Regions from separate parts of the Homo sapiens genome. Here all the other regions are linked to region 1. The links are contacts of gene promoters, found by promoter capture Hi-C in human tissues and cell types (Jung and others, 2019). All regions are on one chromosome and are shown on one strand. Each heading gives the region's core, a stretch centred on a gene start or on the middle of the fragment in contact. The rest is flanking DNA. Distances are from core to core; before and after follow the strand shown.

What was found. Contacts are between HindIII fragments. The study calls those that stand out against the background at their distance.
Region 2: a contact is called between a fragment that was not itself captured here and the fragment with the promoter of LINC00908 in region 1, in 1 of the 25 tissues and cell types used here (dorsolateral prefrontal cortex).
Region 3: a fragment that was not itself captured here is called in contact with the fragment with the promoter of LINC00908 in region 1 in 1 of the 25 tissues and cell types used here (dorsolateral prefrontal cortex).
Region 4: a fragment that was not itself captured here is called in contact with the fragment with the promoter of LINC00908 in region 1 in 1 of the 25 tissues and cell types used here (dorsolateral prefrontal cortex).

Annotation. Positions count from the first base shown.
Region 1 is chr18:76,525,237-76,530,659 of GRCh38, forward strand. It overlaps LINC00908 (long intergenic non-protein coding RNA 908), which reads left to right and starts at 3,419. Exons shown (of 3, transcript NR_015417.1): 1 at 3,419-3,727; 2 at 5,148-5,228. RefSeq lists enhancers at 3,161-3,801, 3,802-4,440, 3,938-4,017, 4,441-5,080. The HindIII fragment of the contact is 15,253 bases long and covers 1-5,423 here.
Region 2 is chr18:74,607,104-74,612,526 of GRCh38, forward strand. The region is part of intron 1 of ZNF407 (zinc finger protein 407); the gene reads left to right. Among named protein-coding and RNA genes, the nearest start is that of ZNF407, 12 kb to the left of the region's middle. The HindIII fragment of the contact is 4,267 bases long and covers 96-4,362 here.
Region 3 is chr18:74,747,903-74,753,325 of GRCh38, forward strand. All of the region lies in intron 3 of ZNF407 (zinc finger protein 407), which reads left to right. Among named protein-coding and RNA genes, the nearest start is that of ZNF407, 150 kb to the left of the region's middle. The HindIII fragment of the contact is 7,081 bases long and covers 1-5,423 here.
Region 4 is chr18:74,982,591-74,988,013 of GRCh38, forward strand. All of the region lies in intron 8 of ZNF407 (zinc finger protein 407), which reads left to right. Among named protein-coding and RNA genes, the nearest start is that of PTGR3, 220 kb to the right of the region's middle. The HindIII fragment of the contact is 3,800 bases long and covers 1,439-5,238 here.

The sequences.
Region 1 (5,423 bases), core at 2,169-4,668:
AAGGCGCACTAAACCTCCCACATCTGCACAGCTCTCGTGACGATCTGTTCTGCACCCAACGCCGTGTTTTCCTGAGAGTAATATGTCCGCTGTGTCTTTAAAAGAACCACTGTGTCAGCTTTCATCTCGCTGTTTGCACTTTTACCTGTAATCTGATTGTGGGGAGAAAAGGAGAACTTGGGTATCCCTCCCTGGCACCCTGTTACCAATAGCATTTGTTTAGTTAGTAATTCTATCTCAGCCGGGACTTTTCCCATTCGCTGGGTTTGTTGCACTCTGTGTACATAGCTGCATCTCCATGGCAATGGAAAAACATGATGCTGGAGATTCAAAAGGGGGCGAGGGAGTGGAGGAAACACTACCCTCAGGTCCCAGCCTCCCGGGAGGGGCTGGGCTAATTTATATGTCAAGTTAAGGGATGCTGGGACTCAGAGATCAAAGAAGGTCAAAACTGGGCTCTTGGAATGGGAGATATTTATTATGTTTAATATAAATACAAATGTGTCCAAGAAGAGAAACTGAAACCTTAAAAGGCATGTAGATTGTGATTGGTAAACATAAATAACACATCTGAAAATGGGTAGATTGCTAAAATTAACAGGCACTTTTAAAAGCTGTCTTAATTTAAATCAGGATAAATTAAGACAGTGACAACCTCAATTGAAATTGAAAATACAAATCACTTGAAAACGTTGATTAAAATTTCTAACAAGACTTTAGAAATGTCTTGTAATACCTTCTGACTATAAATGCACTTTAGACATTTCTGGTTTCACTCCTCAGCTACATGTTTTGTTATTAAGAGCATTTGTTTCATACCGTTAACAATACAGCACTAGTTTGACAAATTGTGGTATGGGGGTGTGAGTGCCTGATGGAGAAAGAGGCTTTGTCTTTTGGGGGGCCCATTAGTGAAACAACTAATAAGCCTATAGCAAAACTGATATGATGGGAAATGACTTCTATTCAGTTAACTCGATTATTAGTGCTAATTGGGGCCAGGTGAAGCATGGATAATTGAAATTCACAGATAATCCAAAAACCTCTATTTAACCAATAACTTCAAACTTCTTCCCCATCAAACCAATTACCGGAGGAGCTAACAAATAGAAAAAATGGATTAAATTGAATTTCACTTCCCCCAAAGATTACCACTATGATGTCTTTTTTATTGATTAATTCAGAGCAAGAGCCAAAGATTAACTATATTTTAGAGACTAAATTACAGATAGTCCCCAACAATTAAAAAGAAAAAGATTATATTCCAACGGTTTGTTTATAAATCAGTTACTTCAGTTACTTGAAGCTCAGAATGCTTTTTCTCATAGAACAAAGCGTCGATTGGGGTAGGGTACCAAGGTAGCACACAGAGGTCAGCCAGTAACCCAATGACACTGGAAATATATTTAAGATTCTCAGCTCCTTAGTCAAGTTCTTTTGAATCCTAAATCCTTACCCTCCCACCCCTAAATCTCTCTGAGCCTTCAATCTATTTTTTTAACTGAAGTAAAACTCACATAGCCTAAAATCAAAAGTGTACAACTCAGTGGCATTTAGTGTAGTCACGGTGTTATGCCACCATCACCTCCAGTTTCAAAACACTGTCCTCATGCAGAAAGGAAAGCCCCCTTGGACCCATTAGCAATCATTCCCCATCCCCGACTCCTTCAGACCCTGGCGACCTCGGATCTGCTTTCTGTCTCTATGGATTTGCCTCTTCTGGACATTTCATACAACTGGGCTCATAACAATCTGTGGTATTTTGTGCCTGACGTCCTCCACTCAGCATAAGGCTTTTAAGGTTCATCCACGTTGTGGCATGTGCCAGTGTTTCACTCCTTCTCATGAGTGAATAATATTCCATCGTGGGGATACAGCACACTTTACTTATCCATTCCCCCTCTTGGAGGGGTGCTTGAGTTGTTTCCATTTTGTGGCTACTGCGAATGCTGCTGCTATTAAACCTGATTTTGACCCTGTGGTGGCATAAGGAGCTCATCAGGGTGAACTGGAAGGGGTGTGCCCCACTGCTGGTGTCTGGTCAAGCAAACCCTCACCCCTTGAGAGAGGAGTCAGTGGGAGACACCACTCAAGTCTCCATAATGAGGGACAATTTCAGGCTGGGACAACATGGTGGAGGAAGGACCTCTTCAGAGAGGAAGTGCACGTAAGGGGCAAGGACCCTAGAAAGACCTGTGGGACCTGTGGAGAGTATGCACGTCCTTCAGATTGAGGCTGGTTTGAGGCCGGGTGCCATGGCTCACGCCTGTAATCCCAGCACTTTGGGAGACCAAGGCAGGCGGATCACCTGAGGTCAGGAGTTCGAGACCAGCCTGGCTGACAAGGTGAAACCCCGTCTCTACTAAAAATACAAAAATTAGCCGGGCGCGGGGGCACACACCAAAAAAAAAAAAAAACAAACCTGGGCTGAGTGCAGAAATCAGTCCAATCCAGGGAGAAATCTGGCAAATACTCTTGGCCAGCTCCTGTTTTTCTGAAAACATAGGTGCCAGAAGAGCATCCGGTAGCAGCTGCCAAGTTCAATACTAGGACTCCACTCCACAGACAATTCTGTCACCCCATTGTGGGTGTCCTGGATGCCCAGAAAACCCACATCTCTTGATAAAGTCCTCCTGTGGTAAGTCTGCAACCCCTCTGCACCCAGCCCCTCTGCTGACACCCCCTCTGCACCCTGCATCTTTGCCAAGTGGGGAGAGATGCATTCCAGAACTCCAGTGGCAGGATCTGCCCTTGCCGGGATCATGCAGACTTGGCATTTTCCAGTACCTACTGTTGCTTGAGGTTTCTTATAATAGAGCAGGATGAGCAACACGACTTCTCGTTTTGTAATTTGGCACATATGTATATGTTTTATACATACATGCTATGTGTCTATATGTACACACGGCAATACATACGTGTATATGTATACGTATATATGTATGTCAACGAATACCTAAATATATAATCATATGAAACAAACTGTTTATCCCTGTTCCATAAACTTCATATCAATTCAATAAATAAAATTTATTCAAAATCCAATCATCCCAACACATTAACATTTAATTTTTCCCTATTTTCTGTCTGTGTTTGTCATTGAATATTAAAAGTTTTGCTTTTTTTTACTATTTCACCTCTTTTCTAGGTAGTCCATAATTTTAAAACAATATATATGGCACCACTTGGTCTTCACAGCTTTCAAGACAGGACTGTCAAGGCAAGGACACTCCTTAGGGGACCCTGTCCCATAAAGTCAAATTATGCGGGATGAGTCAGTGACGCAGGAGCTAAAAACAGTGTCCCTTTAAAAATGTGCATGCCTTTGAAATGGAATAAGTAAAGTACTTGCAGATGCAAATGGTTTCAAGTTTCACTGGAGACCCAGCGAAAGCGGCTGTTCTCAAAGTTGCCAGGCAGTGTGGAAACGCCCACTGAGGGGCACACAGTGAGGCGGCCACTGGCTCTGTGTCCTTGGGGAAGCCCCTTCTGCGGTCCCCTCCATTGTCTGCGTGACAAAGTGGACGTAGAACTCCCCCATTTCCTGCCCAGGGCGGGTGAGGACCCTGCACACACACGGTGTGTTTGTGAGCTGTGCAGAGTGGGGTCTCCCTGGCAATGGCCACAGCCTCCAGGGGCGCTGACACCTCCCGTCTAACTGGTAGACAGTTTCTGCCTCTTCTTGTTTGGGGATTGGAGAGGGAAGTGCGTCTGGATGACTACTAAGGTAAATATGGAATGGGCACCGCGTCTTCCCTTTCTTCTCTCCCTTCCCACGCACCTGCCTGGCTCCCCGGCTCTCCCGCCCTGGCCAGAGTCAATGTGAGCTGCAAAGTCCATATGTGAACAGCTGTGGGCAAGTCGTGCAACAGTGCTCATGGGACTTACTACGCATCTAAGCCGCTGAACTTCAGCTGGACCCCAAATGGCCTTGGTCACGTTTTGTTTCTGTTTTGTCATTTCCGGCTGCATCTCCCACAGTCTCAGCCCTGCGCTCCTTGCTCTGCCTTCTCCTCCCCACAGCTTCTTTGCAGATAACATCCTGGCCGTATTATGCAACTGAACCCATATTATCCGGGGGAAACTTACCCTCCTCTGCTCTCTAAATCTTCCTTTTCCTTCTGGTTTTGGAGAAAGAGGAGCTCCTTTCCATCAATCAGGTCAACCTCTTCCTGTTTCCTTTCTTCATTCTTCGTTATTTTCCACTCCTGAGTTTTGGACTCTTCTCTCGGTCAATAAGTATATCCGAATTCTTCCAGCTGTAAAACCAACAAATGAAAGGCCTCGTGTACCAAGGCTGCCCCCGCGTGCGGCCCCCCGGGCTGTGTGGCCTTGGCCTGGAACACAGCCCCGCTGCCACCTTCCTGCACTCCGTGGGGGAGATGGGCGGTGCACACTACCCAGAAGTGGAATGTGCATTTCACAGAAAATGACCAATTTAAGCAGAAAATTAAAGCAGAAAACGGGGTGAGAACGGCAGACGCGTGTGTGGGCACCGCAGCGTACACGCTTAGGATCCCGAGTTTATTTTTCTAGGGCCCGTGTGTTGGTGCGCATGCGCGTGCGCCCCCACCACCTGAAATCTTGGTAGTGCCTGTTAACCCGGCAGTAGACCCATGGGTGAATTTACTCTCTTCTCTGTGTCTTTCTGTATTTTCCATGCTTTCTGTGACGAACAACATCATACATACCGCTACTTCTTTTTTTGGGGGGACGGAGTCTCGCTCTGTCGCCCAGGCTGGAGTGCAGTGGCGCGATCTCGGCTCACTGCAAGCTCCGCCTCCCGGGTTCACGCCATTCTCCTGCCTCAACCTCCCAAGTAGCTGGGACTACAGGCGTCCGCCACTACGCCTGGGTAATTTTTTGTATTTTTAGTAGAGACGGGGTTTCACCGCGTTACCCAGGATAGTCTCGATCTCCTGACCTCGTGATCCGCCCACCTCGGCCTCCCAAAGTGTTGGGATTACAGGCGTGAGCCACCGCGCCCGGCCACATATCACTTCTTCTATTGTGCATTCACTGCACACCAAGCACTTCTATTGGGCGTTCACTACACACCAAGCCTAAGTAAGGGCTTTCTGTGCACGCTCTCATTTCATGCTTATGACACTCTGAGAATTAAGACCATTTTGGCCCCTGTCTTACAGATGAGGAGGCTGAGGCCTAGTGCTCCTAGCGGGCTTGGTCAAGAGCAGGAGGCGGAGGTGGTGGAAGGCTGTTTCCCTGCGGTGAGTGCTCACACGGTTGGCGGTGATTTCTCCGCAGGGTCTCACAGGCCGGTGCTCTCAGGAGCCACACCTGAAGAATGGCAGGACCCAGGGTGGGCAGAAGAGGAAGGTGAACTGAGGAACAGTTGCAACAGAGGCCTCGGCCAACCCCATGGAGGGCTCTGAATTTGAGAGCCCTGAGAGTCACTCCCCCTG
Region 2 (5,423 bases), core at 979-3,478, 1.9 Mb before region 1:
GATTAGAAGCAGGCCTCTTGATTCATGGCTGGTCTTTTTGCTCCTCCATTGGTGGTTCTCAATCCTAATGTGTATCGGAGTCACCCAGAGGGTTTGGGCATCAACCAGAAACTGGCTCAGCAGGCCAGGGCTGGGGCTCAAGAATCTGCATTTCTCACAGGTTCCCGGGGTGACTTTGCAGCTGCCAGTCCTGAGACCACACTTCTGTAGCCTCAGCATCACCTGATGTGGCGTTGATCTCTCAGGCCGCTTGTAAGAGGAGATTAAGTAAACCTTCCCAGGTTTATACCAGACTAACCTTTTCCCTAGTACTCGGATAATCTAGTTCTTTAATTTTATGTTAGAAAAAAGAAATGCACATAGTGATTAGATGGGGGAAAAAAAAAAAGAAATGGAGTATTTCTCACAGAGTCACTGTGGCATTTTCAGTCGTAAATTTGGAGCTAATTCTGTTTGTCACGACCACTGGCCATTGACGGGGCTGGGTTTGTGCTGTGAGGCCCAGTCTTAGCAACGTTTTCTGTGAAAGGGTGTCCAGATTGATTGCTAGAGTGTATAGGAGTGAAAAATTAGTTCTGGTTTTGTGACTCTGTACTTTTCTTTGTTATTTTGTGTACTTAAATAATCCCTTCTTATATATAAAAATCTCATCAGGCCCTAGCACACTTACATGCACATAGTAGATGACAAATAAATGAGTTGAAATGGATTAAAAGAGTAAGGGGGAAATAACATAGGTCATTTATCTGGAAAGACTTCAGTGCCCTGGAGAGTTACTCTGTTCTCTAGAGTATCCCAATCACAGGCTCTTCCTGAACAATTGTAATTTATTTATTCCAGCTTAATCCTTATTTGTAGTTATTGAACATTTTTAGCACAGAAGTTAGAGATAGCATATTTTTATGTTAGAGTCAATAATCCCTCCCTTTTGTCTTTTTATCTTTCATCTGAAATGACTTTTTAAAACTTTCTACTTTGAAATAATTTTAGAAAAAAGAATTGCAAAAATAGTCTAGAAAGTTCCTATGTATATACCTTTTGGCCAGCATCTCCTGTTGTTCTCATGTATCCATAATACAATCATTGAAACCAGGCAATTGGTAACAATTAATCTAAAACATTTATTTGAATTTAACCAATGGTTCCATTGATATCCTTTTTTTCTGGTCCAGGATCCAACCCAGTATCCCACATTGTATTTTGTTATGTCTCCTTGGTCTCTCCAGTCTGTGATAGTGTTCTTTTAGATTTCTTTTTTTTTTGGAAACAGAGTCTTGCTCTGTCACTCAGGCTGGAGTGCAGTGGCTCATCTCGGCTCACTGCAGTTTCCGCCTCCTGGTTCAAGCGATTCTTCTGCCTCGGCCTCCTGAGTTGCTGGGATTACAGGAGTGCACCACCACATCCGGCTAATTTTTGTGTTTTTGGTAGATACGTGGTTTCTCCATGTTGGCCAGGCGGGTCTTGAACTCCTAACCTCAAGTGATCCGCCTGCCTTGGCCTCTCAAAGTGCTGGGATTACAGGTGTAAGCCACCGCGCCTGGCCAGTTCCTTTAGATTGCTTTGTCTTTCATGACTTTGATACTTTTGAAGAATACTGGCCAGTTATTTTGTAGAATGTCCCTCAGTTTGGATTTGTCTGATGCTCTTTCTTGTTAAATTGAGGTTTAGGCATTTTTGGTGGGAATACTAGCACAGGGGTGAAATCATGTCCTTCTCAGTGCATCATATGAGGAGGTATGTGATATAGATATGTCTTCTTCTGGTGAACGTGAACTTTGATCTCTTGGTTGAGGTGATGACGTGTCAGGTTTTTGTACTGTGAGGTTAAACATTTTTTTCTTTGTGATTAATGACTCATTTTTTTTTTGATTTTGGTGCAGAAAGTTTGAAACAAATGAACATAATATCAGAATCTTTTGAGTTTGACTTTAACTGTGGGGTATTTCATATCTTGAGAAGGTTTGTTATTATTTATTAGAACCAAACATAGCAGGGGAGAGGTAAAGGCTTAAGCTGTTGGAAGTACATGCATTTGCTGATCTCCGTCAATCAATCAGTATTGAATTGGCAGCCGAGGAAGCTGTCCAGTTCTTTTGCTGTGGTTCTGCACTCTGTCTCACATTTGTCTTCCAGTGAATGACTTTCCCTACCTGTGCAGGGGGGATACATTCTTGAGAAATGCCTCTAGGTGATTTCATTGTTGTGTGAACATCACAGAGTATACAAACCTAGATGGTGCAGCCTGCTACACACCTGGGCTATATGGTGTGGTCTACCGCTCCTAGGCAACAAACCCATATAGCATGTTACTGTACTGAATGCTGTAGGCAATTGTAACTCAATGGTAAGTATTTTGTGTATCTAAATCTATCCAAACATAGAAAAGGTGCAGTAAAAATATGGTATAAAAGATAAAAAAAAGGTATACTTGTTTAGAGCACTTACCATGATGGAGCTTGTGGGACTGGAAGTTGCTCTGGGTGAGTCAGTGAGTGAGTGGTGAGAGAATGCGAAGGCCTAGGAGATTACACTTTTGTATAACTGGCAGTGTAGTAGGTTTGCTTACACCAGCATCACCACAAACGTGAGAAATGTGTTGTACTAAGACATTACAACAGCTAAATGATGTCACTAGGCAATAGGAATGTTTCAGCTCCGTTGTAATGATAGGGAACCATCATCATGTATGTGGTCCATTGTTGACCAAAACATCATTAGGTAGTGCATGACTGTGTTTCAGTTCATCAGAGGGTAGTCACCCTAAGTATCCTGTGGCTTATCCATTTGGTGGTTCCTAGAGCTGGGTAGGTATGTTTTATTTGTAGATCATGTGGATGACATTGCTGTATATATTATATATGCTTTATATAATATAAATTGTCTCTATTCTCAAAACACATATGCCTTTATTGTCCCAACCGGAGCACATTGGAAGAAACATATTGGATATATCCTTCACAGGCTTGTAAGCTTCTTGGAGGCAGGGAACAAGTCTCTTTTTGTTTTCCAGTGACTTGCTTGGGACCTGCAATACACAAGCCACTCATAAATATTTGATGAATAAATGAATACTATACGTGCATTTTGTTAGCTGCTTTTGCAAGTTACCAGAATTTTGTGAAATCTTTTCACATGATTGTGGAGCTGTGTAATCTAACAGTATTCAAGTAGATGGATTGCCACATTAGCTTTACTTTTAACCATCCCCCATTGTTGGATAGTAGGTTGTTTCCAGTTTTTCTCTACAGTTCATGGTGAACATCCTGAAACCCACATTTCCCCTCTCCCTCTCGGTCTCTCTTGTGCGTGCATGCGTGCAAGCAGCTTACCCTCCAGATAGGTAATTACCCATTTAGGTAATTACCATTTGAGGACGTTCGTTTTCCTGTACTTTCCCAATGCTTAACTCTTTAGTTTTTTAGAATAGGACTTAAATATTTTGGGACTTTTTTTTGTTTTATTTTGTTGAGAAGTCTCGTTCTTGTCCCCCAGGCTTGAGTGCAATGGCTCATCTCGGCTCACTGCAACCTCCGCCTCCCTGGCCCAAACAATTCTGCTGCCTCTGCCTCCCAAGCAGCTGGGATTAAGGTGCCCACTACCACACCGGGCTAATTTCTGCTTTTTTTTTAAGTAGAGATGGGGGTTTCACCATGTTGGCCAGGCTGGTCTCGAACCCCTCACCTCAGGTGATCCGCCCACCTCAGCCTCCCGAAGTGCTGATATTACAGGCATGAGCCACCACGCCCAGCCTATTTTGGGACATTTTTAAGGTTTCTTCCTGGGGTGTAGTAAGTGGGGATCATAGTCTGACTACAGTTTGCAAATAACCTTCCAAATGTTCATGTGAAATTTTCCAATTTTTTGTCTCAATGAGAGAGCAGAATAAACCTCAATGAAGTAATGGTTAACACCTAATGAATATTCCATCACTTTTGATATCCTCTCTAAAGTTACATGTGGTCCTTACCAAACAGGAAACTTCCTGAGGGTGGGGTATGTTTTTAATTCACATTACTCACAAAAATCAACCGCAGGTCAATTAAAGGCTTAAATATAGAAGGCAAAACTATGAAACTTTCAGAAGGCAATGCAGGACAGTAGTTGTATGACTCTGGTATAGGAAAGGGGTCTTAAAAAGATCACAGAGGGTGCAGACCATAAAGGAAAAGATCAATATGTTTGACAACACTAATGTTGATATAGCTTTTGTTTATTAAGAGAAACCATCAAGAAAGTGAACAGACAGGTCATAGGGAGAATAGACATATTCAGCACATATTACTAATAAAAGGTTAGTATCCAGCAGGGTGACTACAAATCAGTAAGAACAACAGAAAAGGGGACAAATGACCTAAGTAGGCATTTCACAGAAGAGGAAACTTGAATGCAAAAATGCTCAACTTCATTAGTAATTAGGGAAATGCAAATTAGGACCAAAATGATGTATAGTTTCTTACACATTAGATTGGCAACAATGTAAAAAGTCTGACAATATTGTTGGGAGGACAGGAAACAACTGGAATGCTTATATACAGCTGGTGGAAGTGATAGGCTGCCTTTGGGAGTATCTAGTAAAGTTGAGATACCTGTATCCTTTGACCCAGTAATTCCACTCAGTCTTTATCTTGGAGCAGTGGTTTCTGAATTGTTTCGCAGCATCATTTGGGAACTTGTTTGAAATGCAGATCTGGGGTCTCTGCTGTGGACCTACTGAATCAGCAACTTTAAGGATGGGCCAGGTTTCTGACTGTCAAGCCCTGTAGGGAATGTGATGCTAAAATATGAAAGGTATTACCCTAGAGAAACTCATGCGCATGAGTGCCTGGAGACATGTGCAAGGATGCTCACAGTCACGCTCTTTGTAAGAGGAAAGACTGGGAGCAATGTCCATCAGAGGAGAACAGATGCCTGCATTGTATCATATTCCCATAGTGAAGTCCCGTACAGTAGTGAGATTGAGTGAATGTTAGCTGCATTCATCACCAAGGATAATACGCAGCTGGAACATAATCTCAAGGGGGAAAAAAGCTACTTGTAGAAGAATACACAGTTTTTTCCCTTTTTTTAAAGTTTAGAAACATGCAAAAACAAAATTGTAGATTGTTAGAAATATGGATATGATAAAGTAATAAAGAAAAACAAGTGATACATGCAAGACTCAAGTCGGTGGATAACTGTATAAGAAGGAAGGTGATGGGAACACAGAGGGACAAATTATCAGAGATAATTTGTTTTTCTTGAAGTATTATCTGCACTCAGGATTTTGTTATATTTTGCACAACACCTTTACACATATTAAAAGTTTTTTGTATATACCAAATATCTCAAAAACAAACATGATTTTTTATTTTGCATACTCTACGTAGGGACTTTTCTGTTTGTGTGAAAAAGATTTGATGGAGATGGAGAGACAGGTTCTTGGA
Region 3 (5,423 bases), core at 2,047-4,546, 1.8 Mb before region 1:
GTAGAATTTTAAAATGAATCTAAGTGAAGTTTAATGGTTTGTAACATTGAAGAATTTGTCAAGAATTATCAACTACAGTTCTACATAGGAAATAGTTAAATGTTCTAGTTTTTAGGATTATAAAAGCTGTCAGGCATTAGAAAATTAAAATGTTGCTTGGTGATTTTTAGAATATTTAAAAAATGTGCTTAGTATGTTTGTAAATATGGGGATATGTTCAACTATTTTAATGCTATAAAGTTTCTTTTCCCAGGTTAAGCTCTTGTGATTAGGCATGACTCAGGGCTTGCAAATAATAAAAATTATGATCAATAATTTTCACACAGCAAGTTTTCAGAGATGATAAAGTTTTTCAGTGTTGCTGACATTTAAAAATTCTTTCTTTTTTTTTTTTTTGTCCTCTGCAATAAGTAGTCAAATTCTTGAGGACTCCTAATATATATCTGGACAACACTGATCAGAAAAAGCTTGGGTTTTACTATTGAGAACATGATTATTCAAATAGCCTTTCTACCACCAAAATTACACATTACAGGTTTAATTTAAAATTAGCTGACATATCATTGCTGCACATTTTTATTTGAAAACATTAAAAGACAACTTACAAAGTTTTAATTTAAAATTGTTTATTAATACAAATAAGATTTTGTTTCTGCTTCAGTTTTATCCCTTTTGACTTTAAAAGCCAAAGGGAAAAATTTCTTCCAATCACTTTCAATCTATAGAAAATGAAAAGAATTTTAATTTTATGGCCATAATCATAAACAGTACATTAGGTTTTGTATAATAACATGTACCATTAAAAGACTTCATTATGGCAGTATCCTATGATCTTCACATCAAAATGAGGAGGAAAGAACATTATTAAGTATGGGAATTTCATGGCAGTTTTACCTGTTGTGGACCCTGTTATGTCAAAAATATAGTGCAGTGACTTCTGAACTAGCTGACAGACACGAAAGCCGTTGTGTCACTGTGTGTTATCACCTCCTGTAACTGAAAGTGCTCCCAGAAGCCAGTTTGTGTTGTGGAGTTCTAGATGAGGTCTTCATGGGTGCTGACCATAAAAAGTTCATCAAAGTAATGAGGCGAAGAGAGCGCTTGGTGCTCATGGGCAGAGCTCAGCACCAAGGAGTGTGAACTGGCTCCAGCTGTGACAATAAAACAGCAGGTGGCTGCTGTCATTAGGGGTGGCAGATGAGGCAGGGGACTAACATTCAGCCCACAAAACTCTCATTTGTTAGCCATTGCCACTGTACCATGCAAAATAGCTTCCATCTCAGTCAATTTTCCTTTGCAGAATATTATACACAGCCATAGGAATATGAGAGCATCGCGTGTACAGGTCTCCTCTCTGCTGTCCTCCCCTCTCCTCTCATCGTGGCTCCTCTGCTCTGCCCTTTCCTTACCTTATATTTTCTTCACATCCCCCAGCCTTCTTGCTGGAAAACACTACTTCATCAACGATGTTGGGTATGGCCTGTATCAATTCCAGTAAGGTATTGGAATTTTAGAAATTAATGGTGCCCATTTTGCCCTCATGCTGCAATTATTACTTAGACTTAGATGTTGTTTTAACTATGTAGATGATCATAAAACCTAACTGAGATACCGTTTTTTAAGAATCCATACTGTCTTTGTTATCTGTTGTGAAGAATTTAAAACTGCAGTGAAAGAAAAAGAGGAATGCAGCAGAGATGTCAGAAAAAAATTCCTGTATTTATTGTTTGAGATGCCTTACCACAAATTTCAGAATTTATTGGCTCCCGAATCATTCTAGTTTGGAAGTAAAGGATAGTTTTTAAAAATAATATATGTGTCTGTGAACATTTTAGTATACTGTTATTTTTGAAAGTACAACAGTAGGTCAAGTCTTAACATCTTATTTGGGGAATAAAACTCCAAATAATAGAAAGCTTTGTATTCCATTTAATACAGGAGGCAAAGGAAATTAAAGAAGTATGATAAGTTATTGGAGATGTATCTTATTGGAAACTATAAAAATTAGAAGAGTGTGAAATTGTCATTCTTTTTTGGAACTTTTCTAAGGCAGAAGAGAGGCCTAAATTCACTGGACAAAGTATGAGGTTGGTGCAAGGGTCACAGTTTTGTCCATGAAAGTCCTTTCCAGCCTCATTTTCACCCAAATCCGTGCTATAGCCTTGGCACATATGTAAGCTTCTCAGACTGGTTTACATTTTCTCACACTTTTCTTCTCTTCCAGGAATATCATCCTTCTCATGGAAATCCTAGTTATCTGTACATTTTACTTCTTCTTTGAGAGTATCCTGAATTCTTTTAGGCATTACTATATCTTACCTACATTATCATCTTGTGGTATTTTTTGCCTACCAACATAAGATGCAAAATTGTTTAACAGTTAATTGCTTTTGTCGCTCATTTTACTGATATGTGAACTTTAAAATAAAACCTAAATGAGTGGTGCAGTATGTTCTTTTTCAGCTGAGGGAAAGTCATTTACTTTTTAACTTGATTCATATGTAAATCATCAGCTTTTCTTTTCTATAGATTTATTCTGGACAGTTCATATGAATGTGATTATACAATATGTGGCCTTTTGTGTCCAAATTTATTCAACTGGCATGTTTTCATGATTCATTCATGTCATAGCATGCATCAGTGCTTCCTTCTTGTGGCCAACTAATACTGCATTGTGTGGACCCAGCACCGTTTGGTATTCACCCGTTCATCATTTCATGGTCATCAGGATGATTTTCACTTTTTAGATATTATGACTAACGGTGCTGTGAACGTTTCTGCACAGATTTTTGAGTGGACATAAATTTTCAGTTTTCTCGGGTATATAGGAGTAGAATTGCTGGATCTTGTGCTAACTATATGTTTAACTTTGTGAGAAGCCATCAAATGTTTCTTGCTAGCAGTGTATGAATTTTTGAATTTCTCTGTATCCTCAACAAGACTTGTTGTTTGTCTTTTTGATTATAGCTCACCTGATGTGTTTGAAGTGATATATCATTGACGTTTTGATTTCAATTTTCCTGAAGAGTAATGCTCTTGAGCAACTTTTTATGTGCTTTATATTGCCTATTTTATATATTTTATGGGGAAATATCTATTCAGATCCCTTGCCCGTTTTTACTTTGTATTGTCTTTTTATTGAGTTTTCTGAAATTTTTATTCTGGATATTGTCTTTTTAATTTATTGATTGTGTCCTTTGAAGCACAAACTTCTTTAATTTTCATGAATTTCAATTTACTCTTTTGTCATTTGTGCTTTGGTGTTATATCTAAAACCATTGCCTAATTTAAGATCCCAAAGATGTATTCCTCTAAGATTTTATAGCTTTTTACCCCTTACATTGGGATTTTTGAATCACTTTGAATTACTTTTTGGATATATCATTAGGAAGGAGTTCATTTTATTCTTTTCTAATGTGGCTACGCACGTCTCAATACCATTTGTTGAAAAGTCTATTCTTTTTTTTAAAATTTATTTATTTTATTATACTTTAAGTTCTAGGGTACATGTGCACAATGTGCAGGTTTGTTACATATGTATACATGTGCCATGTTGGTGTGCTGCACCCATTAACTCGTCATTTACATTAGGTATATCTTCTAATGCTATCCCTCTCCCCTCCCCCCACCACACGACAGGCCCCCATGTGTGATGTTCCCCACCCTGTGTCCAAGTGTTCTCATTGTTCAATTCCCACCTATGAGTGAGAACATGCAGTGTTTGGTTTTCTGTCCTTGCAATAGTTTGCTCAAAATGATGGTTTCCAGCTTCATCCATGTCCCTACAAAGGACATGAACTCATCCTTTTTATGGCCGCGTAGTATTCCATGGTATGTATGTGCCACATTTTCTTAATCCAGTCTATCATTGATGGACATCTGGGTTAGTACCAAGTCTTTGCTATTGTGAATAGTGCCGCAGTAGACATACATGTGCGTGTGTCTTTATAGCAAGCTGATTTATAATCCTTTGGGGATATACCCAGTAATGGGATGGCTGGGTCAAATGGTATTTCTAGTTCTAGATCCCTGAGGAATCACCACACTGACTTCCACAATGGTTGAAGTAGTTTACAGTCCCACCAACAGTGTAAAAGTGTTCCTATTTCTCCATATCCTCTCCAGCACCTGTTGTTGCCTGACTTTTTAAATGATTGCCATTCTGACTGGTGTGAGATGGTATCTCATTGTGGTTTTGATTTGCATTTCTCTGATGGCCAGTGATGATGAGCATTTTTTCATGTGTCTGTTGGCTGCATAAATGTCTTTTTTTGAGACGTTTCTCTTCATATCCTTTGCCCACTTTTTGATGGGGTTGTTTGATTTGTTTCTTGTAAATTTGTTTAAGTTCTTTGTAGATCCTGGATATTAGCCCTTTGTCAGATGGGTAGGTTGCGAAAATTTTCTCCCATTCTGTAGGTTGCCTGTTCACTCTGGTGGTAGTTTCTTTTGCTGTGCAGAAGCTCTTTAGTTTAATTAGATCCCATTTGTCAATTTTGGCTTTTGTTGCCATTGCTTTTGGTGTTTTAGTCATGAAGTCCTTGCCCATGCCTATGTCCTGAATGGTAGTGCCTAGGTTTTCTTCTAGGGTTTTTATGGTTTTAGGTCTAACATTTAAGTCTTTAATCCATCTTGAATTAATTTTTGTATAGGGTGTAAGGAAGGGATCCAGTTTCAGCTTTCTACATATGGCTAGCCAGTTTTCCCAGCACCATTTATTAAATAGGGAATCTTTTCCCCATTTCTCGTTTTTGTCAGGTTTGTCAAAGATCAGATGGTTGTAGACGTGTGGTATTATTTCTGAGGGCTCTGTTCTGTTCCATTGGTTTATATCTCTGTTTTGGTACCAGTACCATGCTGTTTTGGTTACTGTAGCCTTGTAATATAGTTTGAAGCTAGGTAGCGTGATGCCTCCAGCTTTGTTCTTTTGGATTAGGATTGTCTTGGCAATGTGGGCTCTTTTTTGGTTCCATATGAACTTTAAAGTAGTTTTTTCCAATTCTGTGAAGAAAGTCATTGGTGGCTTGATGGGGATGGCATTGAATCTATAAATTACCTTGGGCAGTATGGCCATTTTCATGGTATTGATTCTTCCTATCCATGAGCATGGAATGTCCTTCCATTTGTTTGTGTCCTCTTTTATTTCGTTGAGCAGTGGTTTGTATTTCTCCTTGAAGAGGTCCTTCACATCCCTTGTAAGTTGGATTCCTACATTCCTAGGTATTTTATTCTCTTTGAAGCAATTGTGAATGGGAGTTCACTCATGATTTGGCTCTCTGTTTGTCTGTTATTGGTGCGTAGGAATGCTTGTGATTTTTGCATATTGATTTTGTATCCTGAGACTTAGCCGAAGTTGCTTATCAGCTTAAGTTTTCTAAATATACAATCATGTCATCTGCAAACAGGCACAATTTGACTTCCTC
Region 4 (5,423 bases), core at 2,089-4,588, 1.5 Mb before region 1:
TCATACTCCAGTGGCCAGTAATCAGGGCGTTGCCTGTTAAGGGAGGAACCTCTCGTCACTGTCTTAGGAGCGTCACCTCTGTTTCCTCTCTTCATCCCACAGCAGGTAGATAGATAAAAATATTGTAGCATCTAACAAGCAGACATTGAATTTTTGTTCTAAAACGGCAAATTAAATCTGTCTCTGGTGGTTCCAAATTATGTAAAATAAAAAAGAAACTTTTATCACTGATAGGTCTTGTCATTTCTATTCAGTAGCATTTTTAAAAAATTGATGAATTGGAACTTCTTTTCTTCCAAAGAAACTCATCAACCCTGTTCATTGTTATTCCTGAAAGGCTTACTTCCCAAGTGTAAAGTTGTCTGAAAAAAAATTTTTTTCCTTTTATCATCATTTAATTTTCCTAATAATGCTGCTACTGTAATAGCTTTTTATAAACCAAGAACATGATGTTTTTCAAAAACCAAGCCAACTAGTTATGCCATGTGGATCAAAGGGAGCAAAGTGTGGCAGAAAACACTTTCCTATTGTTTTAATAACTAATTCCATGATTGCATCATCTTCCCTTAAACTGCACTATTTTTTTTTTAAATCAGTTTTGCGATTTGAGTAGTACCCGGCTTTTGCTGTTTCACGCTTTATGGTCCCCTCATTCAGAGCTTGCTGCTAGAGGTCCCTTTTCCTGCCATTGTGTTCTCACTTGGGGGTATGGCCCCATTAAGGTAGGCACAGTCAGGTGTTATCTTAGGCTGTGTAAGCCATTCTACAGCATGCAGTGTTTGTTCCTAAAGAAGTGTTCACTTTGTAATTTCCCAAATGAAAATAGGAAGTGCTAGAATCACATGATAAACTTGCGTATAACAACCGTGATATTCTGTGAGTTTTTTTCTGTTTGTTTGCTCAGTTCCTAAGGCCCTAGCACATAATTAGTGGCTAGTATTGTTGCTTTTTTGAATGATTTATGAGTCAGTCGGTCTTTGGGTAGTCATGAAGAATATGACTTCTATACAGAGGAAATATTTGCCAGGCCCAAAGCTAAACAAAATTAAGTTATTTAGTTTTACAAACATAGCAATTAGAAGGAAAATGAACAGGAGTTGTGGCTTTGAATTTGGAGAAGCAGGATAGGCACTGGGACACGCCAGGAGCATCCATGGTGACCTCACCGTCTTTTCCTCAGCATGCTAGTGACAGAGAGAGGCCACACTGGCTGTGGAGCCTAAGAGGAGAAAGGAGTCCCACACCCGTCATGGCTCCTGGTGGCATTGCTGTTAGCCTGGCACCGAGCAGCTCAGCCTGTAGCTACTGGAGAGTTAGCAAAGATGAAGGGGAAAGAACTGGCAGGTCTATCTCATTTGATCTTCTTGTATAGATGTTTTTAATAATTATACATCAGTCTGTTGTAATAGTATTTGGCAGGTCATAGACAATTTCTGTCATATTACTTGATAACAGCCCTCTGAGGAGGGAAAACCATCTCTCTTCTTTTATAGAAAATCAAATTGACTTTAGAAAGGCTAGGGATTTGTCCACATTTCTATAACCAGTAGTTAACAGAACTAGCTCTCGGACTAGGGTTCTTCTCTGTGTACCTCGTTGTCCAGGTCGTTAGCCACTCCCAGCGAGCCTCGCCTAAGCCTGCGCTGCCCCTCACATACCTCAGGTGAGTGCTGCAAATGTTCCTGCCGCTGCTCACTGCAACTGAAGTTACCAGAGGAAAAAAAAAGTCATCACATCTTTTTTAAAAGTACCTGGGCCATCCAAATCATTCCTGCCAAAAACTATTCTAAAATTTAATAAGATCAGCAAGTTAAAAGTTTAATTTTTATTATGTTTACAATATATGACATATTGGTTTTATGTCCAATTTTTAATTCCATATCAAATTGTATGTAGTTTATGTTTAGAGTTCATTTAGGTTCAGCATGTAAGTTGTTATGACCTTTTATAGGTCTTAAAACATGATTTCAGTTCATTCTTAACTTTGTGTTACCTGCTCAACATCCAATAAATGGATGTTAATAACCAACTATGTGCCATAGTGCCCAAAACCTAAAAACTAAATGATGGTTAAGAAAATCCCGTATTGTTTCTGAGATTTATTTAATGCTATGTTTGGGCAGAAATGCCACCATTAATTATAAAATGGAAATTTGTTGAAGCAAAGACGATCCACTCTGCCAAAAAGTTTCCAGGGATCAAAGATGGTGAAGAGCTGGCCCTGCATTTGTGATTAACAAAGTATCACATAACTGGACTTCTCTAGTCCACTCAGGATCATTGGCTCTGATTCTGAATGTGCGTAGAGTCAAATTGTTTACCTTTTGAAGATCTGTTCATTTATTTTTAACTCTTGAGTCCAAATTTGAAAAATATATTACAGTATTTTTAGAATTTTGTAGTGTGCTAGCTCTCAGCAATATAAATTACCTTTTCTAATAATATATGCAGTGATACATTAGTGACCCCAAAGACCGAATGCATTGTCGATATTTGAGCACAGTTCTGATTAGTGCATCCTATATTCATAAAAGAATAGTCTTTTCTTTATACATTTTGTTGGTATTATTTTTACCTCTTTATTTGAATCACCCTGTTAAACAGTTTCAGCTTTAACTTTGTTCACTACTCTGGTAATTTTTACCTCCTTAAAATACCCTTTATACATTAATATGTTCCTGTGTAGGAAGAAAAATAAAACATGAAAAGGTGAATAAATATTGCTGATCATTCAATACAGAGAATTAGTTATTTTAGAGTTACAGTGTTTCCTATATCATATTAATTCAACTTCTTTTTGTTGATGTCGTTGACATGAGGAAAGTCTGGAGTCTACTAAGTGTTTATTAATAGGAACTATGAGAACAAACTTTAGACTAATCTTTGAGTTCCTGGCTAATTATTACAACCACCTAAATTAGTGTTATCCTTAGGGAAAGCAAACAAAAATAAGGAGGAAAGCCAGTCTTCCAACTAATAACCGATGTTAAAATTCGGAATTAAGAGAAAAAGAAATGTGTGGCTCTAAATCATTCCATTCTGGAGGCCTTTAGAGAGGATCGAGCAGAAGGGACCTTCTGGCGCTGTTCTGAGCTGCCACTCACTGCTGGGACAGGAGCCACACGTGGGGCCCAACTCTGCCTGTTGCTTTGGGCCATTGAACAGCCAGGGTAGTACAAAAAACTGTCATTGCTTGACAGTGAAACAGGAAGGAAGCAAATGGACCCCGTGGCCTTCCTAACCTTAGACCACACTTTTTCCAGGCAGAGCGTATGGAATTGTGACTGCCAACATCAGAGTTCTAGTCTAGCCCTGCCACCAGACTATGGACTGATATGTTTCCCTGATTGAACTTCAGTTATAATCTTTGTAAAATGAAAATAATTTCTTGTTGACTGGCTCATAGAATACTTATGAGGATGGAATATGAAAGCAGTGTGTGTACTGCAGCATCCTGTGTGAACATACAGCATTTTTGCCATCTCCATGTCACTGTGTGTCCTCAGCATTGGCACTCATTGTATGCAGACACATCCACTGCCCCTCACAGCACACAGCAGTTTCACCATAAGACAGACTTCGGCATACAAACTAATAAATACAAATGCAGTCTAGTGTTGATTTTTCTGCTGACGTTTGACAACTTACTGTGAAATAGGAATAAATGTGAGCTCTCGGTGGGAATAGTTAACATACTTTAGGATGCTAGATGCACTGCCAGAAAACTTTAACTACGTCATGTACTCTGTTACCAAAGGAAGTATTTTGACATATTATAGTGAAATGGCACTACTGTTAAATTAAGAATTGTCACCAAAATAAAATTTAAATACTCCAAAGAAGCCATTTAGCTAATACTGTTTCTCGGACCACATGAGTTTACAAATTACTAGTGTATTATATGAAAATTCAAGAAAGTCTAACCATTTCAGCCATTGAATAGTAGCCCCCATCCATGAATGTCATCCATTTTATACTTGGCATTCTCTCTCTCAGTTTCACTTTAAGCTTTTATTTAACAACTACAGTGTGGTTTCGAAAACATCTCCAATTTTTTCCCTCTCAGAGGAAACATGCAATCATATTATGTTACAATAAATGTAGATAGCTGGAAGTAAATTCAGATTGTCCTTAGTTCTTAAAAATATGGATTGAAAAACACACACAAACGCACACACACTTTTCGATGAGTATGTGAATGAAGAATATGCCGTATCCTGTATATTCCAGACAAAAATCCTGTTTATTCTTCTATTTTTTCTCTTAGTTATATTATTTCTAAGAAAAAGGGGGAGATTTTTTAAAATGTATTATGTTTATCTTTCTTATACATTCTTTAACATGTTAATGTATGTTCATATAGGATATTGTGTCTAGTATTTGTTTAAAATATTAGGACTAGTATCCTTCATGTAAAGGTATTTTTGAGCTTTTTAAAAATATTTTTTATTCTCGATGGGCAACCCCAACACCAGACATTTTGACTAAACATCATATAAGTGTTTCAGGAACAGACAAAATACATTAGCTGATACACATCGCGTGTGTTAGAAATGGCATACTCCGAAGTGCATTGAGCACTGGAAAGTTCATGCTGCTTAGAGGCGTGTCGTTGTGTCAGTACCGGGGAATTTTTTTCAAGCTTTTAATCCATACATAGATAAGTCCAAAGTTGTTAAGATCACATTGATTTTATAGCTCCTTTGATAGACGATAACATCATCAGTGTCTGTGAAATTTATTACAGCAATATGTAGAGAATGGTGCAATTATTATTATAGGTCTTACTGTATTACCAAACCCAGTAAGATTGTACGCGAGGAACGGTGAGCTCACGTGTGGTGTCCGTGTTCATCTCCTCCAACAAGAATGTGTGTTGAGAAAAGAGCCACCTTAGCAGGAAGCATCACAGGCTTCTCTATTGATCGGGCTCTGTTTAAGCAATAAGAGAATGTCTCCTTTCAGTGACAAATAAAATTCTTGAAGAGAGGAGAATATGATGTGAACTCTGAGGGGTTAGTGAAGCTGCCTGTCTTGTGTGCCTGTGGCCTAATTAAAAGTTAGAAAAATACAGCCAAGGAAATTAAATTTTAAAGCAAAACTAGAAAAAAAAAACTGGATTAGAATAATGTTCAAATACTTAGGGATACATTTTTTAAAATATATTCAAGACCTGTACAATAAAAACTACAAAACACCGCTTAGAGGAGTTAAAGAAGACCAAGATAGTAGAGATTCCACATTTATAGATGGGAGGACTCAGTGTTGTTAAATGTCAGGTATCCCCACATTGATCTATAGATTCAACACAATCCCAGCCAAATCCTAGGAGGCTTTTGGTAGAAATTGATGAGCTGCTTCTAAAATGTGTGTGGGAATGCAAAGAACCTGTAATAATCAAAACAGTTTTGGAAAAGAAAACA